Regions from separate parts of the Homo sapiens genome. Here region 1 is linked to region 2. Evidence: promoter capture Hi-C in human tissues and cell types (Jung and others, 2019). All regions are on one chromosome and are shown on one strand. The core of a region is centred on a gene start or on the middle of the fragment in contact, and the rest is flanking DNA. Distances in the headings are between cores, read along the strand shown.

Evidence for each region. Contacts are between HindIII fragments. The study calls those that stand out against the background at their distance.
Region 1: a fragment that was not itself captured here is called in contact with the fragment with the promoter of DNAJC9 in region 2 in 1 of the 25 tissues and cell types used here (lymphoblastoid cells).

The regions. Positions count from the first base shown.
Region 1 is chr10:72,376,919-72,382,695 of GRCh38, forward strand. The region is part of intron 10 of MICU1 (mitochondrial calcium uptake 1); the gene reads right to left. Among named protein-coding and RNA genes, the nearest start is that of DNAJB12, 25 kb to the left of the region's middle. The HindIII fragment of the contact is 7,352 bases long and covers 1-5,777 here.
Region 2 is chr10:73,244,607-73,249,622 of GRCh38, forward strand. It overlaps DNAJC9 (DnaJ heat shock protein family (Hsp40) member C9), which reads right to left and starts at 2,649. Exons shown (of 5, transcript NM_015190.5): 1 at 2,404-2,649; 2 at 2,082-2,222; 3 at 1,316-1,570. The coding sequence starts at 2,583. DNAJC9-AS1 (DNAJC9 and MRPS16 antisense RNA 1) reads left to right here and starts at 2,761. Exons shown (of 4, transcript NR_038373.1): 1 at 2,761-2,777; 2 at 3,687-3,844. It overlaps MRPS16 (mitochondrial ribosomal protein S16), which reads right to left. Exons shown (of 3, transcript NM_016065.4): 3 at 4,243-5,016. RefSeq lists enhancers at 2,091-3,290, 2,556-2,895 and a silencer at 2,206-2,355. The HindIII fragment of the contact is 4,197 bases long and covers 243-4,439 here.

The DNA.
Region 1 (5,777 bases), core at 1,716-4,215, 870 kb before region 2:
TGGTGGGAACAAGGAGGCTTGTCTGTGGTGTGAGTACACTAAGGCTTCACGCCTTGGTGGGTGAATGACAGCTAAGTGCCTGCACAGTGAGCCCTCCCTGCCCAACTCTGTCCCTCCTCCCTACTGGTTTTGCACCAGACTTCTTCCAACTGAGCCCATTGGTATATGCACTGGCCCTTGTCTTAACAGTTCAGGATGCGTATCTTTCTTTTTTTTTTTGAGACAGAGTCTTACTCTGTCCGCCAGACTGGAGTGCAGTGGCACGATCTCGGCTCACTGCAACCACTGCCTTCCGGGTTCAAACAATTCTCCTGCTTCAGCCTCCCAAGTAGCTGGGACTACTGGTGCCTGCCATCACGCCTGGCTAATTTTTATATTTTTAGTAGAGATGGGGTTTCACCATGTTGGCCAGGGTGGTCTTGAACTCCTGACCTCAGGTGATCTGCCCACCTCGGCCTCTCAAAGTGCTGGGATTACAGGGGTGAGCCACCACACTCAGCGGGCCCGGCCAATAGTTCAGGATGCATATCTTTCTTTTAAAAAATATATATTTTTAGACCTCAGCAAAAAATCACTTTTCTCTTGCCGTTTTCTCTTTCCCAGACATTCACCGTCAAACACTAGCAATTATGTTAGAATTGGGTTCTCATGAAAGACAAGACAGGAAGGACGAGGCAATTTCCACTGCCTTCTCTCTCATTTATCCTCAAACCTGGTCTAGCTACACCTATAAATCATGTTATTGCTTCTGGACACATTCTTAAGTGAGGTAAAATATGAGGGAAAGAAAAGGATTAATTTCCATTTATGCTGGTAATGAAGAGCTCTCTATAATCATCACATTAGATTCATCCAGAAGCCAAGTGAACTTAAACTAGAACCACTGTGCCTTGTTTATCGCATTCCTATAATTTCAGTTCCTATTATCAGCCCATCTTGTCATTTTTTGCATTTGATCTTTCACTTTGCCTCTATCACCTCCATATATTTACCCGATACGGTTTAGATTTGTGCCCCCACCCAAATCTCATGTCAAATTGTAATTCCCAGGCCAGGCGTGGTGGCTTACACCTGTAATCCCAGCACTTTGGGAGGCCAAGGCTGATGGATCACCTGAGGTCAGGAGTTCGAGACCAGCCTGGCCAACATGGTGAAACCCTGTCTCTACTAAAATAAATACAAAAATTAGCTGGGCGTGGTGGTGCGCACCTATAGTCCAAGCTACTCAGGAGGCTGAGACATGAGAATCACTTGAACCTGGGAGGCGGAGGTTGCAGTGAGCCAAGACTGTGCCACTGCACTCCAGCCTCGGTTACAGAGCGGGACTCTGTCTCACAAAAGCAAAACAAAAACAAAAAAACCCTGAAAATCCAAAAACAAATGGTAATCCCCAGTGTTGGAGGAGGGGCCTGGTAGGAGGTTACTGGATCATGGGGGCAGATTTCCCCCTTGCTGTTCTCATGATAGTAAGCGAGTTCTCATGAGATCTGGTTAAGTGTGTGGCACCTCCCACCTCTCTCTCTTCCTCCTGCTCTGGCCATGTGAGACGTGCCTCCTTCCTCTTCGCCTTTCACCAGGATTGTAAGTTTCCTGAGGCCTCCTCAGCCATGCTTCCTTTACAGCCTGTGGAACTGTGAGCCAATTAAGCCTCTTTTCTTTATAAATTACCCAGTCTCAGGTAGTTCTTTATAGCAATGCAAGAATTAATTAATACATCACCACAGTGCCCCCAACATCAGCAGATGCAAACACTGGAGCAATGCAGAGGAGCAAGGTAATGCGGTAGAAAACAAGGCTTGGAGTAACGGGACCTGGGCTCCAGTTCTGGCCCCACCACCAACGTGCTGTGTGACCCGGATGGAGTCACTTGATCTCTTTAGATTTAATTTTCTCATGTTCAAGTGGAGGGATGCCACCAGACAACTGCTGAGGCGGCTTACTAGCACAAAGAAGGGTTTATTGGTGTCATCTAGAATCTGAGGGTGAGGTTGGGGTGGAAATATCCCATCTTTTCTCCCAGGATCTGAGTTAGGGTGAAGAGGAAATTAACATTCTTTGGTACTAAAAGACTGAAGTATAAGATATTGTGGTGGATATTCATGAGATGTGTGTTGGGAAATCTACAAGACTATAGCGCTCTAGAGTTTAGAAATTTAGCCTCACAAATCTAGATACTTGATTTGGCTCAGGAAAAACTTATTCCTGCTAACTAAACTGTCCACAGAAGGAACAGAAATCAGGCCAATTTGCAATAAGAATAGTAACTGTTAAGAGAACTACAATGATGACAGCTGGTCATTATACTTCTCAGTAGGAAAGCTACTAAGGAAACCCCATTCACCTCAGAAGATTAACCTCAAAAGATTACTCAGTGAAAACAGAATGAGATCAGAAGGAACTGGAAGCGCTTAAACTGTGATTGCCTACAGCTTTACTCTTTGCTGCCACAGAAATGTGTCCTGAGAAGGGGATCGGAACCTGTTCTGTATTAGATAAACATGAACACTTTCTGTTAACCATTCCTTTTTCTGCATTTCACATCAACCTTAAGCTTCTGACTTCCTTTTCTCTTTCCCAGTTCTTCCATTCTCTCAGGGCACAGCCTTCTGCAATTGTCTTGATATTTCAAGTACTCATCTTCTCCCCATGAAGATGGTGCCCTTTCCTGTAAATAAACCATTAATTAAATAATACTCAAGGATGTCAGTGAGAGCTCTTGACAATTTCTAATGAGAGGCTCATTAAATTGGTATTAAGTGGTTGTAGAATAGGGACTTCTGGAGGCCTCCAGCAAGAATGCCTCATTACAGATGCCATCTCTTCACAGAAAGTTATAGATTATGTTCCATCTCACATGGAGAGGGCTCTGGTGTCCTTCCTACCATAGGAGGAAGAACTAGGGCTGCTAAGTTATTGTAGCCCAAACCACTGGGATGTTAGCCAGCAAACAGCCTAGCTGGGGTCCCCTTTCCTGGTACAAGATCCTCATTATAGGCCCCTGGGGTATGAATCAGAGTCGTGCAGGAAGCCAACATTTAATAGCTGGTGAGCTGTCAAACTAGGAGCACCTGGGATGAGTGGGATGACGGCAGATTACAAGCCAAGTGCTTGACAGCTGGTCCTGAGAGTTGGTTCATTCATATTTGCTTCCAATATCTCTGAATCCAGTCATAATCACAGCAAGCAGAACAAGTTTTCCTCCCAGATCTCAACTTTTTTATGCAGACCAGTTGTTGGTACTGGAATTCTGGCCTCCCTATTTGATGATGCTGACTGATGGTTGGGATTCCAGCTCCCAATCTGAAAGATGTCTACAGGGAGCATGAAGGCACCCCAGCGAAGGCCTAGCTTTCTAAATACTACGTATTTTTGTACAAATCTGGCCCAGCTGCCTGAACAAAGGGTTTAAGTGCGATTGGGTGATTCCTATTAGATTGGGATGGGAGAGAATTTGTAGAAGTGGGCTCAACTAGTACTCAAAAATCTGGCACCATCTGGCTTTTTGCAAAGTCCAGGCAGAATCCGAGTTGTGTCAGGTCCCCAATTTACTCTCCAGCATGATTCATGACTGGCTGTTTCAACAGTAAAAAGAAACCCTGAGTTTGTGTGATATAATATCAGAAACTACATACATAAATCTATTCACCACAATAGTTAAACAGAAGAGCTCTGAAGTGATGAGAGCCCAAATGTCCACTTGGAATCAGAGAATCTTAGAACTGGAAGATACCTCAGAGGAAATGTGACGTTAAATAATTTGCCCAGGGTCACAATGCTAGATGGTAACAGAGCTGGGTCTCGAATTTTGGCTGGTGCCCTTTCCCTATACACACTGGGTCCACATGATCCCTTCCATATATGGACAATATCAATTCCTCCATGACATGAATCTGTCACCCTGAGGAGAAAGGGTTTAGATTAAAGAAAAGTCACATGGGAAATACTCAAGTCCTTTTGGTGAGGGATGAATGAATAATTGAATAACTGGGAGTTGTGAGGCACCAGCATTAATTATAGGTTGGCCGTGGATCTGACTACCCCCTACAGTGGAAGACACTGAGTATTCCCTAGGAACTCATACCGACAATTTTAGGGACAACTTAAAAAGTGTATTCAACAGCAATCCAACGAAAAGCACATGTAACGAATGTGGCCCTGGGAGTTTTTCTCCACAGCTGCCTCTGATGCACAGATACAGCTTTAGGCAGCATGACCCAGTTAGGAGCTACCTGCCTCTTCCTAATGCAAAAGTGTTTGGAAAGGTGGTATGACAAGTTGGGCTGACAGTCTCTAAGCTGTGTGGCCATGTACTATTCCTGCCTTACCGGACTGCAGTGGAGAAAATCAAAAGCTGACTGGTGATGGCCAAGGTTAAGTGAGGGGAGATGGTTCTGCTTCAGCCCTGGAAAGGCTGATGCAGATGTCTTGTTTTCTTAAGTCCATCCCTAGATGGCTTTGGGTGGAACAAGGGGGAGGATATTTCCTTAAAGAGCATGTGTCCTGTCTTTTGTATCTCCTTCCATGAGCTTTTGTTAATACAAATGCACATTTTAACCTAGTTCTGGGGTGAGGGGAGGGGAAACGACAACATTTAGGAGAACTAGCAATTTAAGGAGCCAAGAGCAATGCAGCCTACAAGTAATGGAAATGATAACAATTCCTTGTTCTGTACGGTGCTCTTAGGCCCTATGCCCGCTGACCCCCTGTGTACTCAGGCTGCCTGACTGTCAGAGGTGATGCTGCTAATCCTAGCTCCTAACTTCCAGGACACACCACGGAGAAGATCTGTTTTCTGAGCCTGAGCGCATCATCCCAGATGATGGCTTCAATGGGCTTACACGCTTAATTTGGTACAAACTAACTTGGCAGTAAGATTTATTGCCATTGTCTAGTATTGTATCTGGGTTTATTAAAAATCCCCATCACATCTTTTCCACAAAGGGCTAGCATTTCTGCAAGCATCATTAGGTAGTCAATGATTTCAGCTGACACACCCATGGGACAATCACAGTTTGGTGGAGGAGACTGTGTATATATATATCTATACACACACACACACACACACACACACACACACACACACACACATTAAGATGGAGAAACACGTAGAAGAGACAGATATCAGATATATTAATACACACATATGGGAAATAATGGAATAGTGTGTATTTGGTACGAGTTACATTTTGGATCTGAATTCTTTTTTTTTTTTGAGACAGTCTTGCTCTGTCGCCCAGGCTGGAGTGCAGTGGTGCGATCTCGGCTCATTGCAACCTCGCCTCCCGGGTTTAAGTGATTCTCCTGCCTCAGCCTCCCTAGTAGCTGGGATTACAGGTGCCTGCCACCACGTCCGGCTAATTTTTTTTTTTTTTTAGTAGAGACAGGGTTTCGCCATGTTGGCTAGGCTGGTCTCGAACTCCTGACCTCAGGTGATCCACCCGCCTTGACCTCCCAAAGTGCTGGGATTACAGGCATGAGCCACCGCGCCTGGCCTGTATCTGAATTCTAAGGGAGAAAAGAGACCAACTGCGCATGTATGGTAGTGAGTGATGTGGGTTGGGGGTTTCTGTTTGAATACAGTATTAAAAGCAGGAAGGAGTGCTAAGGCCTGATTAGAGAGTTAGAACAGAAGGTGCAGGGGGTGAGTACATTAGGAGAAATCTTACAGAGGACTAGTCAAGTCTCCTTGCAAGAAAGTCTTTAAAACAGGCCAAGTGTGGTGGCTCACGCCTGTAATCCCAGCACTTTATGAGGCCAAGGCAGGCAGATCACCCGAG
Region 2 (5,016 bases), core at 1,399-3,898:
TGAACAACCCCAGTTTAAAATGACTTCTCCCCAGTAGTCAGAAGAACCAACATCAATAAACTCAGTTTTAACATCTATTTACCTAATTTCAAAGCAGCCTTCCTTTGCCAAGTGTTCCTAGAGCATTGTTTACAAAATATCACAAGAACACCTTAGGGCAACAACTATAAGAGGCCCCAACACCCCTTGTGAATTTTCTAAGTAGCAATTAATGCTATTAATACTGAGGATGATGATACATTAGGACCCCCTATCCCAATAAGACACCGTTTCCTTGTATTCAAATTCTCTCTTTAAATTCAGCATCCCCCTAAGGTTTGTTGAACAGTCTATCAAAACTATGCCATTTTCTCCTCAAATTCTAGGGAAGTTTCTCAAGCTAACAGTCTACTGTGAATGCAGCTGTGCTCAGTTTCATCTCAGGAAATGATGAACGACTTAAGATAATTGTCAGCTTGAGTCTTAGCAGATGTAGCCTATGAACCAAAATGGTCTTGATATACACTCCACCGTTCCCCTCAAGCTCACCAGAAAGGGTGCAGCCTCTTATCTAGGCAAAACAGGCCCTTCAAATTTTCACCGGAAACAAAAAGGTCAGCTTTCTCTCTGCCAGCGTCTCTTATGTAAAAGCTGCAGAAAAGTTCCTGAGGGCACTCAGGAAGGCAGCAGTGGTCCTAAAAGTTGTGTGCTCCTTAAGAGAATCTAACGCCCGATGATCTAAGGTTTCATCCTGAACCACCCCCCCAACTCTCCTCACCCCCACTGTCACTGGAAAAACTGTCTTCCACAAAACAGGTACCTGGTATCAAAAAGGCTGGGGACCGCTAAGCTAAAGTTTTTCTTTAAAAAAAAAAAAAAGAAAAGAAAAATTCTGTATCCAACTCAAGAATCAAATTCGGGGCAAAGGCCCAAACATCTGCACTTTTAACAAGACGGTGTCTGCCATTCTCTTCTTACCCCCTCAACCGAGTAAGGATCACTGCCCATCCTGTGTACCCGGGTTCCACTAACTTTATCTCCTGAGGAATGCCTCAGGAATGCTACAAGAATTGGCCTACATGAAAAAATATTTCAGTGCTACTTTACTATGGTAATATTTAAACAATCTATGCAATAAAAATCATCTTGAGCACAACATGCTAGAAAAAGTTTCTCTTGATGAACTGGTATGCCCATTTTATTAGATCGAAACTATAGACCAAGTTAACCCTAGTCCTTATTTCTGGAGTTTTATGTTTACTTCTACTGCTGTAAATACTCTCAAATCCTTTTTGGAAGCAGTCAAAATATAAATCCACAGTATTCAAAATCTTACCCTCCTTTTCCTTGCATTCATCTTTTGTTTCGATTCTTTGACAAAGGCATTATAGGATGGGACCTCTCCGGCGTCAATAGCTTGCTGAATGATATTCCTTATCCTGGGTTCCTCTGTGTACTGCACGCAAAGCACAGACTCCATGATCTGATCCATGTCACCCTTGAAGTCCAGATAGGCCTGCTTAATATCAGCCAGCTCTTCTTCCGAACCTTTGTATGTCTTTTCAAAAGCTTGAATGTCCTCTAAAGATATCTGATGATAAAGGAGATTTGCTTTAACTTTGGGAATTTTACTTTAAATAAAACGTACGTTAGTAAAACTAGAGTTGGGTGTTGAATTGCTGCAATACAACAGTTGCTTGAGTTGAAATTATTGAACCAGATTTTCTATGCCTAAGCTTCTCCGGAGTCCTCCTTTTTAAATCCAATCTTCATTAACTGCTAACTAGGGACCAGGGAAGGGAAATTTAAGTGAAATTTCCAAGAGTGAGAGGTGATCCGGAATCAGGACTTACATTTGGATATGTAAAATAAAGCGCATCCGGCAAAAAAAATAAATCGGCCCTTTTCAGTGCAACAATCACATTAACAGGAAATTTAAAGCCCGTTTCAGTAAGCGTGCGTGTATCTGTATTTCAAGGCCAAACTCAAAATTCCTAATTCCTACAAAATTAACACAAAATACAAGATCTTAGAGGCAGTCAATAAAGGTTTGTTGATTGAATGATGGTAACAGTCACAAAGAAACCTCCAGAGTCCTTTACCTTTTTAAAGAGTAGCCGCCAATACGCCTCCCAGTCTCGGTCTTGGGTGAGCACAGGAGAGTCCTCGTCCACTGTTCCCTGCTCATCGTACACTGCTCTCTGTTCTCTGTCACTGAGAACGGAATAGACTTTTCCCAGGATCTGAGGGCAAAGAGTATCCGTAAATCACCCCTGCTCCTCCCACCGAAACGGCGGCGCGAGAAATAAAGATCAGAAGGCGCCAAGCGGAGCTCAGCGCGCTCCCCCGGGGCGGGGCCCGGTAGCCAAAAGGCTAGGGGGAGGCCCGCGCAGCCGGTCGGCTTCGGGGCGGGACCCTGCATACCTGGAAGCGGCGGGTGGCGTCCTCCTTGTCGCCCTCACCCACCCGGTCCGGGTGTACCTGCAGGGACACCTTGTGGTAGCCTCGTCGGACCTCGCCGTCGGAGGCCTCGCGTCGCACGCCCAGCACCCGGTAAAGGTCGGCGGTGCCGAACACTTCCTCGCAAAGGTCCAGCAGCCCCATGCCGGGCGGAGATACGACCCCGGAGGAAGCAGCCGCTCCCAGCTGCGCCGGGTACAACCCAGGACTGCTTCTTTTTCGCGCCCAAAAAGCCCAGGGCGCCTGCGTCACAAGCACTGAAGGGGCGTGGCCACGCCGCGCATCCGCGCTTTACGGCGGCCGCAAAATGAGGTGTGGCGAGTCAGGCGCGGGCCCGGGTAAGTAACGCCGGCATGTGGAGTCACAGTCCCCGGCCGCGCGCAGGAGCTAGGTCTTCAGGGAAGTGATGTTGCTCGGGTCTCTCCTCCCCTTGCTCTGGAAATCTGGCGTCCGTCTTACCTTTTAGTGTCCAAGAACAACTTTTTCAAAAAGTTCATATATTAGCTTGAATTTACAAACTGCTGGCCTATTTTTTTAAGTAGAAAACGGCCAAACATCAGCATTCAGCAGTTACACATGGTTCAACTTAACAGATGTGTTTTTTCAAAAATGTTCTTGAAAGGAATAGGTAAAGCTGTAGACCCAAATAATTTTGCACCCCACTGGTTGGAAATGCTGGGGTACTTTCCCTCTAGCCCTGTAGGAAAAAACCCTATACTGAAACCCAAAAAGCACAAAACACGGGTCTTCCAAAAACTCTTACCTAATAGGACTTTCACCTTACACATTGGTGGAGAGAGATAACATGACCCAAGCCTCCGTCTTAATAACATAAACTGCTGAAGCAAAGGCTCTTTCTTTTAATACTCTGTGAAGTTCACAGCTGGGTTTGAACATGTTGGATCCCAGGTGGCAGCAGAGTGGGCTGGAGCAATCATCCAAGAGATGGTGAGAAACTTGGGCCTGGAGACCCAAAGCAAGGTTGAGGCTGGGGATAAAACTTTGTTAGTAGGGTAAACTCACAGAGGAAGTATGTGTATACATATCTTAAAGGATAAACAATGCTAAGTGAATACCCGAGTTGGCAGAAAATACCTTATCAAATATCCCCTCACTGATGTAGCATTTTTCAGAATCATTCTGCTCTGCCAATAAGTTTCTGCAAAGCCTCAAACTCTCCAGGATACATTAATATCTTTTAAACTTCCCAGAGTTGCCGTGATTTTCAAAGCATTTCTCTTTCCCAGATCCAAGATCAAACTCAGCTGAAGTCAGTTCCTCTCAACCTGCCCTGGCATCAAAGTCTCAAAGCAAGTGGGGGCCAACCAGCAACAACCCCAGGGGAGCTTTGACAACCACAGAATTTGAGATGGCTGGTAATCGTTCTCAGAACATAAAACACAAAGTAAGTCGGCACATTGATAGAACCTCCTCTATAAATTTCCTATATCTTAGTCACACACCAGAGTTAAGCCATCTGTCTTTGCTCATTTTTCCCTCTATGGACAACATAATATGTTGGGAAGGGCTTTCCAGGAGGGCATAACCGGGAGATGAATCTTACATCACTGGGCAAGTTTCCACCTCTAGGCCTCAGCTTCCCTATCTGTAAAACGGAGATAATCCTACCTGCCTTCATAATACCTTACAATTGTCACAAATAACCTTGTACACAAAAGGCCTAGGATATATGTAGATGCTTTGCAATATTATCTTTCTTCCAGTTTCTTGTATTTTTTAAGGTATTCAAATACATCTATTTTAACATTTTTCTATATATACATTTGCTACGGAAAATTGAAATCGCACACTGAAATATCCTTTTATTGCAACTCAAATTTTCAAAAACCAGAAAATCAAATTATTATGCTCTAGCCAAATTATGTAATGTTTTCTTTTTCTTTTCTCTGTCACCCAGGCTGGACTGTAGTGGAACAATCACAGTTCACTGCAGCATCGGCCTCCTGGGCTCAAGTGATCTTACTGCCTCAGCTTCCCGAGTAGCTGGAACTATGGGTGAGCAACACCACAGCCAGCTAATTTTTTAAGTTTTTGTAGAGACGGGGTCTTGCTGTGTTGCACAGGCTGGTCTCAAACTCTGGCTTCAAGTGATCCTTCCACCTCAGCCTCCCAAAGTGCTGAGATTACAGGTGTGAGCCACTGCCCCAATGGTATCTTTATATTATTTTTCCTTACAAGTTACTTCAAATTCTTGATGTTGAATTTCATCTCACTGACTTCAGGCTTTTAAAACACATGGGAATACTTGAGACCTAAGAATGGTTGTGAGTCAAATAAAAAAGTAGAACTAAAGTATACTGAAGTTATTCAAATACATTCAAACTATAAAGATCCCTTATAGATTACTGGCATCAAGGTAGGAAGGAAAAGATACAAGAAGTAAAATGCAACACTCATTACAGGTTGTCAACATTATTGGTATACAGTTTATCCTAACACAGAGCAGCCTTCTTAACCTGCTCCATAAAATTACCAGCAAGAAAGAAAAGTACAAGAATAAGGTTCACAGCTGAATTGGCTTGGTGTCCTAATTCCCTATTCCAGTATTCTCAGAAG